2 separate regions of the Homo sapiens genome follow, and region 1 is linked to region 2. The links are contacts of gene promoters, found by promoter capture Hi-C in blood cells and fetal thymus (Javierre and others, 2016). All regions are on one chromosome and are shown on one strand. Each heading gives the region's core, a stretch centred on a gene start or on the middle of the fragment in contact. The rest is flanking DNA. Distances are from core to core; before and after follow the strand shown.

Region 1 (4,576 bases), core at 1,589-4,088, 420 kb before region 2:
CTACAAGCAGCTTCCATGCTTGGCACCAGGGAACATGTTGGCACCTGGAAGATTAGAGATGCCAGGAACCACAGGGCCCCAAAGAGGGAGTCACAGCCCTAGTTTGGGGAGCTCCCAGGTCTAGGCTCCCTGAAAGGCTGTAGCTCTTCTTTCTTTCTCTTCTTCCGCAGCATAGTGAGCAAGGGACATGCCTCAGCCCTGTTTGTGTTAGCCTCGCTATTCAGCAGGTCCCGAGTTTTTGTCCTGCAGGAAGAATGAGGTACACAGACAAGTGAAAGGTGGGCAAAATGAAGAGGTGCTTTATTGAGCAATAGAACTGCTCAGAGAAGACCTGCAGGGGGCAGCTCCTTTCCGCAGCCAGGGTGTCCCATCAAGTATTTAGCTCCTAGCAGAGAGGGTAGCTCCTCTCTGCAAGCAGGTCGTCCCCACAAGTGTTCAGCTCCCAGCAGAGAGGGTAGCTCTTCTCGGCAGCTGGTTGTCCCATCGTCTCTCCTTCCTCTGCTCTGCTCTGGCTGATCCCAGGGCTTTCATGGGCCTCAGAGGGGAGGAAGTGCACACCGATTGGTCCATGGGTGACCATAGGCGGGCCCGGAGAAGGCACCACAAGTCCCTACTCTGGTCTGCCGGCCTGGCAGCCCGGCCCCCAGCCTTCAGGCACACCCTGTCCTGAAGATGGGGCCTCACTGAGGACCCGCCCCCTTCAGCCCAGAAGCCGGTCGGCCTCCTGCCGCTGTCCATGGTGCCCAGCCTGCTTATGCCAAGGGGCTCCTGCAGGCCAGCGCGGAGCTGCTCTCAGCCCCCACCTTGGCGTCCCCTCCTGTGCGCGTCTGCACCCAAATTCTGGAGAAGTCTGAGGCAGCAGGGCGCTGGCATGTCAGCGCTGGCCCCAGTACATGCACCCCTGGCCAGGCTGCGAGAACACCAAGGCTTGGCCCCCACATTGCTCGGAGATTGGAGTGGGTGCCAACAGCGGGGAAAAGCCAGGCAGCAGGAGCAGGCACTTCCAAGCCTGCAAGGGTGGAGGGGCAGCCTTCCCAGGCCCTCAAGAGGGCAGAGAGGTCTGGGTCCACAGCCCTGACTTGGGCGCCTGCTGCTGCACCCAGAGGGGTTGGGTGGGGCTGCTGCCTGCTCCTAGCTCCTGCCGGGTCCTTGGAGTGTGCAACACCGGCTGTGCCCCCTCGCAGCCTGAGGCAGGGGCTTCAGGTCCTCGCTGGGCCCGGGGTGTCATCCAGGGCAGGGGCGACGTTGCCGCGAGCTTTCCCCACAGCCCTGTTGCTCAGGTGTGCCCCAGGGGTCCCCCTCACCTGGCTCGTGGCTTTATCTGGGCGTGGCGGGGGGCGGGGCGCCTCCGGGAGCAGATCGCGGCCACAGGCCCTGGGCCTCGGCCCTGGCTGTCGGGACTGTCAGGCTCGACAGTCACTCGGATGCTGGGCGGACCCTGGGGAGGCAGTCCCAGGTGGCCTCGCCCAGAGCCTCCTCCCAGGGCACAGGAACCTGGCACCCTCGGCAAGGTGGGCACAGTGGCTGCACCACTGGCTGGGTCCCCAAAGCGGGCACTGCTCCTACTTCCAGCCCCGGGCCCCGAAGTACGGTCCCAGCTCTGCACCCCTCCTGCCTCTCGTGCTCCATGTGCAAGCGCAGCACCACCCTGGGCCCAGCTCCGCCTCGGGGCCCCTCTCTGCTAGACCACATAGCTCCGTCGCTGACGGGTGACCTGGCCCAGCTCCACTGAGGCAGCCCCCAGGGCGGCAGGCTGCGGGGGAGGTAGGGAGGGTGGGCGGGGGCGGGTTGCCTGCGTCTTCCCCACACCCTCTCCACAGCCGTGGCGTAATGGCAGCAGCCGCTCTGGACAGCACACCGCTGTCATCAACATCTTTCCAGGTGGGGCTGATGTTGGTCTGGGACCACACTTGGAGAACCAGTGCTTTAGGGGTTGTGCAGAGTAGGCGTGAAGGTCAGGGGTCTCTGGTCCTGCGAGGCCTTGTGCAGAGGCAGGGACTGTGCCACATGACCTGGAGGAGGTTCTAGTTCTGATAGGCAGGGCTCTGGGCGGAGCTCCACAACCTGCTCCTGAGGTTCCTACAGTTGTCAAAGAGCACGGGCCACCTCCAGGCCTCCTGGCAAAAGTTCAACCTCTTCTAGAGTTCTCTAGCTGCTACTGTCATGCCTCCCTCTTCTCGGGTGGGGAGAGGGTGGTGGAGGGAACCCTGGGGCACATGGCCCAAGAGGAGCCCTGAGCCCTAGAGCAGTGATGGTTCTCAAACTTGAGCAAGCATCACAATCACCCTGGGTAACACGCAGATTACCGGGCCCATTCCCAGAGTTTCTGATCACAGGTCTGGGCTGATGGTGGCTGAGAATGTATATTTTCAGCAAGTTCTCAGGTGATGCTGGCTGATGCTTCTTGGCAAAGGGAATAAAAAGGTGTCTATGTTCTCATGTTTTTATGACTAGGTCCTAGAGGCCTTGGACACTGACAGTCGCAGTCCAGGGAGCAGTCTGAACAGAGACTGGGAATTCATCTGGTGCCAGCTTAAGAATTCAGAATGACTTGATTTTTCTTGAGTGAAGGTTTGGCAAAAAAGCTACCAAATTACATACAACATTTATTCTTCAAAAATATTTTTGAAACTAATCATTGGTTGATGTTTAGGTTCAGCCATTTCAACAAAGGGAGGAGGGAAGAGAACTCACATTTATCAAGCTCTACTAAGCTTTTTGCTAGGCGATTCCCCTACATTATCTCATTTCCTTCTTGAAACGACCATCAGAAGAGGAGGAAATAGGCTCAGAGAGCTTAAGTGACCTGCCTAATGTCACACAGCTTATGAGAGCCAGACTTGGATTCCAACTAAGGTCTGGCTCCAAACACTTCTCACTATACTGGAGAAGGGCTAAGAGGGTACTTCTGACCCCACCTGCCAATCAGGAGGCCAATCTCTTGGGAGGGTACAAAGCTTTTGTTTAAACACTAAATCCCACAAGTAGTAAACACGCCGATACACCACGCCTGACAGCAAGGAAGACAGACAGGCCATCTAAGCACATCTTTTAGAAGGCAGTAAATGGGCATTTCCAGAGGTGCAGAGTTTTGAGTCGAACAAGAGTGAGGGCTGAGCAAGGCTTTCAACATGTGCTGTGCTTGGGGAGGAAGAAATGGCAGTGGGTCACTCCACAAGGGAGACTATGAATGCTCAATCCAGACATAAGGGTTCTGGTTAAAATGACTCCAGAATAGACATCTATTGTCCTTGCTTCTATGTCCTACTTAATACATTTCCCCCACCTGGAAAGATCAATCTCTGTCATTTAAAAATATTTTATCATGAAATAATAAGATATACAAGCAAAGTATACAGACTCGTATGATGAGCACCTATTTACCACTGTGTTTAAGAAATAAAACCCTACTAATGTGATTGTCATCTTCTGTTTACTTCATTCCCATCCACTTGCCCATTCCCAGTAAATAGCACCCTGACTTCAGAGTTTGTCATCTCTACACATGTGAAAGCCCTTCTTTCATCTATGTAAATCCATATTCATCATATTCATCAGTAATTTTAAATGTAGTGCAAAAACTCACCTCCTTCGCAAATTGTCCTTGATTAACCCCACCACACTTAATTTCTTCACTGTCTCTTTCCTAGCTTACATCTTTCATTTTTTTAAACTCTATTCACTTTTACTTGTGGATTCATTCTTTGGAAGTAGTTCACTTCCTCCATGAGCTTTTTTGATCACTCCAGGCAGCACTAATATCTGTTCCAAAGGCGAAATATAGGTGGCTTTTAAGTTAAAATGGTTCTGGATTCAAATATGGACTCTGTCACTTACTAGCTCTGTGACCTTGAGCAATTGACTCCTTTCTCTTGGTGTCTAGTGGCTCATTTATAAGATGAGGTTATCGTAAAGATCAAGTGAGTAGTATATTGTGGTGATTCATTTACATGCATGTGAATGTTATCTTCAAGATATTTAAATCCATGACCATCACCAATTTTTAAATTATGAGCATTGATTTGGGTGCTTGAGCTTTTTTGGTTCATTTTTTGGTTACATACTGTCTCCTAATATGCTATAATGGCTCTATGTGCATAAATAAGACTTGTCTTCCCCCAGAAAAGCTGTGTTCTCATGGAAAGCAGAGCGTGAGCCATGCAGAATGACAATATAACTTACCATTCAAACCAAGACACTTTTGAGAGTGAGAAGAGGTGCTATTAATAATAATTGCCCCAGGTCTCATCACAAACCAGGACTGTCCCTGGGAAGCCAGGACACATGGCTATCCTAATCATATATTTCTTGAGAGTCTCTCCAACCCTCAGCCCAGTGCTAGCTAGGAAGTAAGTACTTGCTAAATCAATACTTGTGGAGTGGAATTGAAGGCCTGGCAGCCTCAGAAGTTAGCAAACATGGCTAGTCTTATGTAGCTCCTCCTTTCCTCCCTCTGTCTCTTGTGTGCTCTTCTTATTCAGCAGTAATGTCACCCCCAAATGGCACATTCATCATCCCAAATTAACCATTATTAAAGCCATCCATTTGCGGGGCTGCAGCTAAAATGAATTGTGTT
Region 2 (4,333 bases), core at 375-2,874:
TCCACCCCACTGTTACTCCCAGAAATGACAACCCTAACACTCTTTCTTCTCACCAGTCTTATTTTTTCTCTGCACGCTGTCCATTCTACATCTTTTTTCTTACCAAAATGGGATCATCCTTTAAGTAATATTTTAGAGACTTATTTTGTTTTCACTCTTTCAATATGTTAACTTTTCCCTCATTCTTCTACCATGCCAATTTTAATATGAAATTGTGTAACTGCCCAATGATTTATCTAACCAGCTTTTAAAAGTTGTTTTCAATTTTCCTTTGCTGAAAAGAACATAGTGGGACTAGAATTGGAAGTGGGGTGAAGATGGGGGGTAGGTGAACAGAGAAATGAGGAGCCCTTAAATTAGTCATGCTATCTTACCATCTGATTTTTTTTTCCATTTTCTGTGTTGAAAAATTATACTTCCCAGAACATGATTGTGAGCACCTGCTTGGCATTCAGTTGCAAGGATTTGCCCTAATTAATGTAACTGGTTTCCTATTATTGGACATTGAAGTTGTTTCTAATTTTTGACCATTACAAACCAGACTGTGATGAACATCCAAGAAGCTAAATCTGTGCTGGGGCTGGACACTGAGGTCAGGAGGAATATTTTCGAGACCTCTGAAGCATAAGGTCCCTGCCAGTAGTTGTAACTAGAAGCTTTCTGGCAAAGGCCCAGAAGGCTGGCTAAGGCCGAGGACTGTGCTCAGGCCTCTGGGCTTGCCCGGGTTCAGTACCCATTTATGTAGCCCCTGTCAGAGAGTGTTCAGGCTGGCATGGTCCTATGAGACCACTGGGCCAGCACCCTCATCTCTTACATGAGGGAACTGAGGCCTGGGGCTGGGGCTGGTCCTTCGGCAGCTCTGTAGTCGGGCAGAACTTTGCCTCTCCCCAGCACCCTGGCTTCTGAACTGGAAGCTAAGCTCTGAGGTTTGGAATCTCACCCAGAGGCCCTGTGAAATCCTGCCTGCTCTCCTTCACTGGACCACTTACTGCTGAGGCTGGAGGGGGCACTTTGACAAATGAACTGATCAGTAAGGGGCTGAGGGGCATTGAAAGAAGACTTAAGGTTTACCCAACAAGCATCTGGGCCTGCTCTGCCCAGAATGCCCCTTTTTTCCCTAACCCAGATGATATGCTTAATGGCAGTCACCCTACATTCAGGTCCACCTGGCAAATCTATCTGAGGTTGAGCTGAAATAACAAGTGAGTCCCTCACTCTCCTTAAAGGGGTCAGCTGTCTCTTCTTGCCAGGAACTGGCTTAGTTAAAGGCCTGTCTATTCAGCCCTCTGTCCCTGACATCTCTGTGGTTTCAGAGTGCTAATGAGCTCCTCTCCTTCCCCTCTCAGGCCTTGCTACTCCCTGGGGAATTCACACAAATGGTGTGCGATTTGCCCCTTCTGTGTTTTTCTTTCTGACTTGGAGGCAAAGCAAATCCCTCACCTCCCACTGACACCATGTTTATTCAACTGGGAGAGATTTCACACCCAGGTAACCCAGCTTTCCCTCCCTGAGCCCCTTCCCTAAATCTTTATCCCCCTCCCAAGTCATCCCACCCCTGTCCTCCCTGAATAATTTATAAGACCAGGCAGGGCTTATAAAAGGGTCTCCCAGGAAAAGCCAAAAGAGTGCAGAAGGTTCTGGGAAGTAGGAGACCCCACTGGCTTTGGTCCCCTAAGAATGGACTCTGCTGCCTGTGCTGCTGCTGCCACCCCTGTTCCAGCCCTGGCTTTGGCCCTAGCTCCAGACCTAGCACAAGCCCCACTGGCACTCCCTGGCCTGTTAAGCCCATCTTGCCTTCTCTCCTCTGGACAAGAAGTAAATGGGAGTGAAAGGTAAGTTGAGCTTAGCCTTTGGCAACCTGAACTTAGGCTTGAGAGCTTCCTGAGAGAGGAAGGAAAATGAGATGTCCAGGGCACCCTGTTCTCTGTGAAGGGGAAAAGCAATGGCCTCATAGCCCTCCCTCCTCAACTCTAGCTGGAATATCTCATCTGACTTTTCACCTCACTAATCCCGCTGGGTGGCAAGAGGGGACTTGGGGACAGCTGTTGCCAAAGCTGAAGGTGAAGCAGCCAGGTCCTCATAGGCCAGGTGGCTGAGTCCCCTGAGGGGGATGGGGAACTGCCATGAAACCTGGGCTTAACACAATCTAGACTGTGGGGGTGGGGAGTTTGGGGAAAGAGGACCAAAGTCTAAAGAGGCCCTTGACTGGGACATTGTCTTTTTCCTGACCACGCCATAAGATTTCCATTTGCTTTTTTCCTACCTCTGCAAGTCCAGTGGGGAAGCAGTGGACCCAGGAACATTTCTGGCCCTCTTCTTCAGCCCAGGAAGATGGTAGAGCTCTGAGTTCTACATCTTGGAGCAGGAAGTAGGAGGCAAGATATTTTCCATCTAGCCCCCACTCATTACTCCAAACATTTAGTCTTCAACAAACATTTACTGAAACAGCTACTGTGTACCAGACATTGTACTAGGTGTTGAGGATTCAGATACGATTGAGCATATCTTTGAGCTTAAGAAGCCCAAAGACAAGTAAATAGACAATTACAAAACAGCATGATAAAAGCAATAATAACATTGCTGAAGCCGAGAGGAGGGACATCTGTCCTGGAATGGGCTCAGGAGCCTTAGGAAAGGCTTCCTGGAGCAGATGGCACCTGAGCCAAGCTTTTGGGAGGTCTCTTGTTATCTCAGGGAGCCCACCTTTCAGTCTCTTCCTCTACGGATTGATCTCTCCTCTTTGTCCCAGAGGAACTTGTCTCTGGAGGCCCTGGCTGTCTTCCACAAATGACTCCCCAAGGCAGATGAGGAAGCTGGTGGATTTGGTGAGTTCGAGCCCTTGTGACGTGTGTTCACATGCAGCCACATGCATTAACAGTGACCAGGTCACTTCCCAGAGAGCCCCTGACCTCAGTCCAAAGGTGCAGATCTGAGATAGCATCCTCACAGTTTTGCCAACATTTGATTCCAACAGAGAGCAGATCCAAGCTTTCTGTGGCAATTGGAAAGATGAGGAGACCAAAGCTCAGAGTGGGCAAGGGATCTGGGCAGGCCCCACAGCCAGTGTGTGGCAGTGCTGGTGCTTGAGGCCTCGTCTCCTGGCACCTTACTCCAGTGCTCTCCCACCCACCCGATCTCCCTGAATCTTTGCTGCTCCAGTAGAACACTGTCCCCTGGAGAGCCTCCAAACAGGTGCTGGAACAGAGGCAGGGAAGCAAACAACCCGCAGGACTCTGTCTGCTTGTTTTTCAACCAGAACCAAGAGAGACCCCTTGTTGAGGGGTGGGTATTGGGGGTTGCTGGGTCCCAGAGATGTCTAAGGTCTCTTCAAGATCATTTTACCTGCAGCTTTCTGACCTCTAGTACAGAGGAGGAAGTTATCTAGCCATGTACTTTGAGCCACATGCTAGCTTTTGCTTTGGACAGGCTGCTGGTGGGGCAACGGCTGCTGAGGTCACCAAGGCTGAATCCAAGTTCCATCACCCTGTCAGGTAAGCTTCTGGCATGAAGCTCCAAACTTGACATAGATCCATTAGCTCTTTGAATCTTCACAAAGGTCTTGTGAAGCAGGAGAGGGGAGGAATTGCTATCTATGATCGCTGTTTCATAGGAGAGAAAACTGGAGCCCAGAGAGGTTAAGGGACTTTGCCAAGGCTGTCTTTTCTAGAGGCATTGTTAACGATGCCCAAGAATGATCCCCCATGGATGGGTCAGTGAAATAATCCTCAGTGGAAGGAGATGGGGCCATAGGGCTGGAGAATTCTTGGCTAGAAGCTTTCTGGGGTAGGTAGCAGGTGGAGTCAGAGCCATAAGTGACAGATGCTGGGGCTGGCCCCCGACCCAACCACTATAGGTCCATAAGGGTTTACCTTCCTGCGTGGGGCCACTTTGTAACAATGCAGAAGGTTCTGTTACAAAACTTTCTTTCTTCCTTTCCCTCTGACCTCATTGTTGCAGCCAAGAGAAGGGGTTTAGGGGCCAGCTTCTTTCTTGGCCCTACTGGCCCCTCTGCACATATGACACCTGTTAGGGGCCATGTTTCTTCTCTGTCCACAGGCTCTTCTGGCCTAAATCCCGCTCCTTCGACTATCTGTACAGTGCTGGGGAGATTTTACTGCAGAACTTTCCTGTCCAGGCAACCATCAACCTATACGAGGACTCAGACAGCGAAGAAGAAGAGGAAGATGAAGAGCAGGAGGATGAAGAAGAGAAGTAGGAGGCCAATGAAAAGGGGCCAGAAGGGTGTGTGAGGGTACCAGGGTCCATACCCTACAGCGCCACAGCTCATCCCCCTTCCTCACCCCTAACCTATCCAAATGGAGGCAGCCAGAGT

The links. Contacts are between HindIII fragments. The CHiCAGO score rates a contact against its expected background, and 5 or more counts as called.
Region 1: a fragment that was not itself captured here is called in contact with the fragment with the promoter of RIPPLY1 in region 2 in 1 of 17 cell types (erythroblasts); the score reaches 5.0 in erythroblasts.

What each region holds. Positions count from the first base shown.
Region 1 is chrX:107,320,991-107,325,566 of GRCh38, reverse strand. No RefSeq gene overlaps it. Among named protein-coding and RNA genes, the nearest start is that of DNAAF6, 120 kb to the right of the region's middle. The HindIII fragment of the contact is 243 bases long and covers 2,717-2,959 here.
Region 2 is chrX:106,900,632-106,904,964 of GRCh38, reverse strand. It overlaps RIPPLY1 (ripply transcriptional repressor 1), which reads left to right and starts at 1,624. Exons shown (of 4, transcript NM_138382.3): 1 at 1,624-1,832; 2 at 2,750-2,825; 3 at 3,427-3,491; 4 at 4,057-4,333. The coding sequence starts at 1,678. The coding sequence ends at 4,216. It also overlaps a transcript of CLDN2 not described here. The HindIII fragment of the contact is 2,011 bases long and covers 659-2,669 here.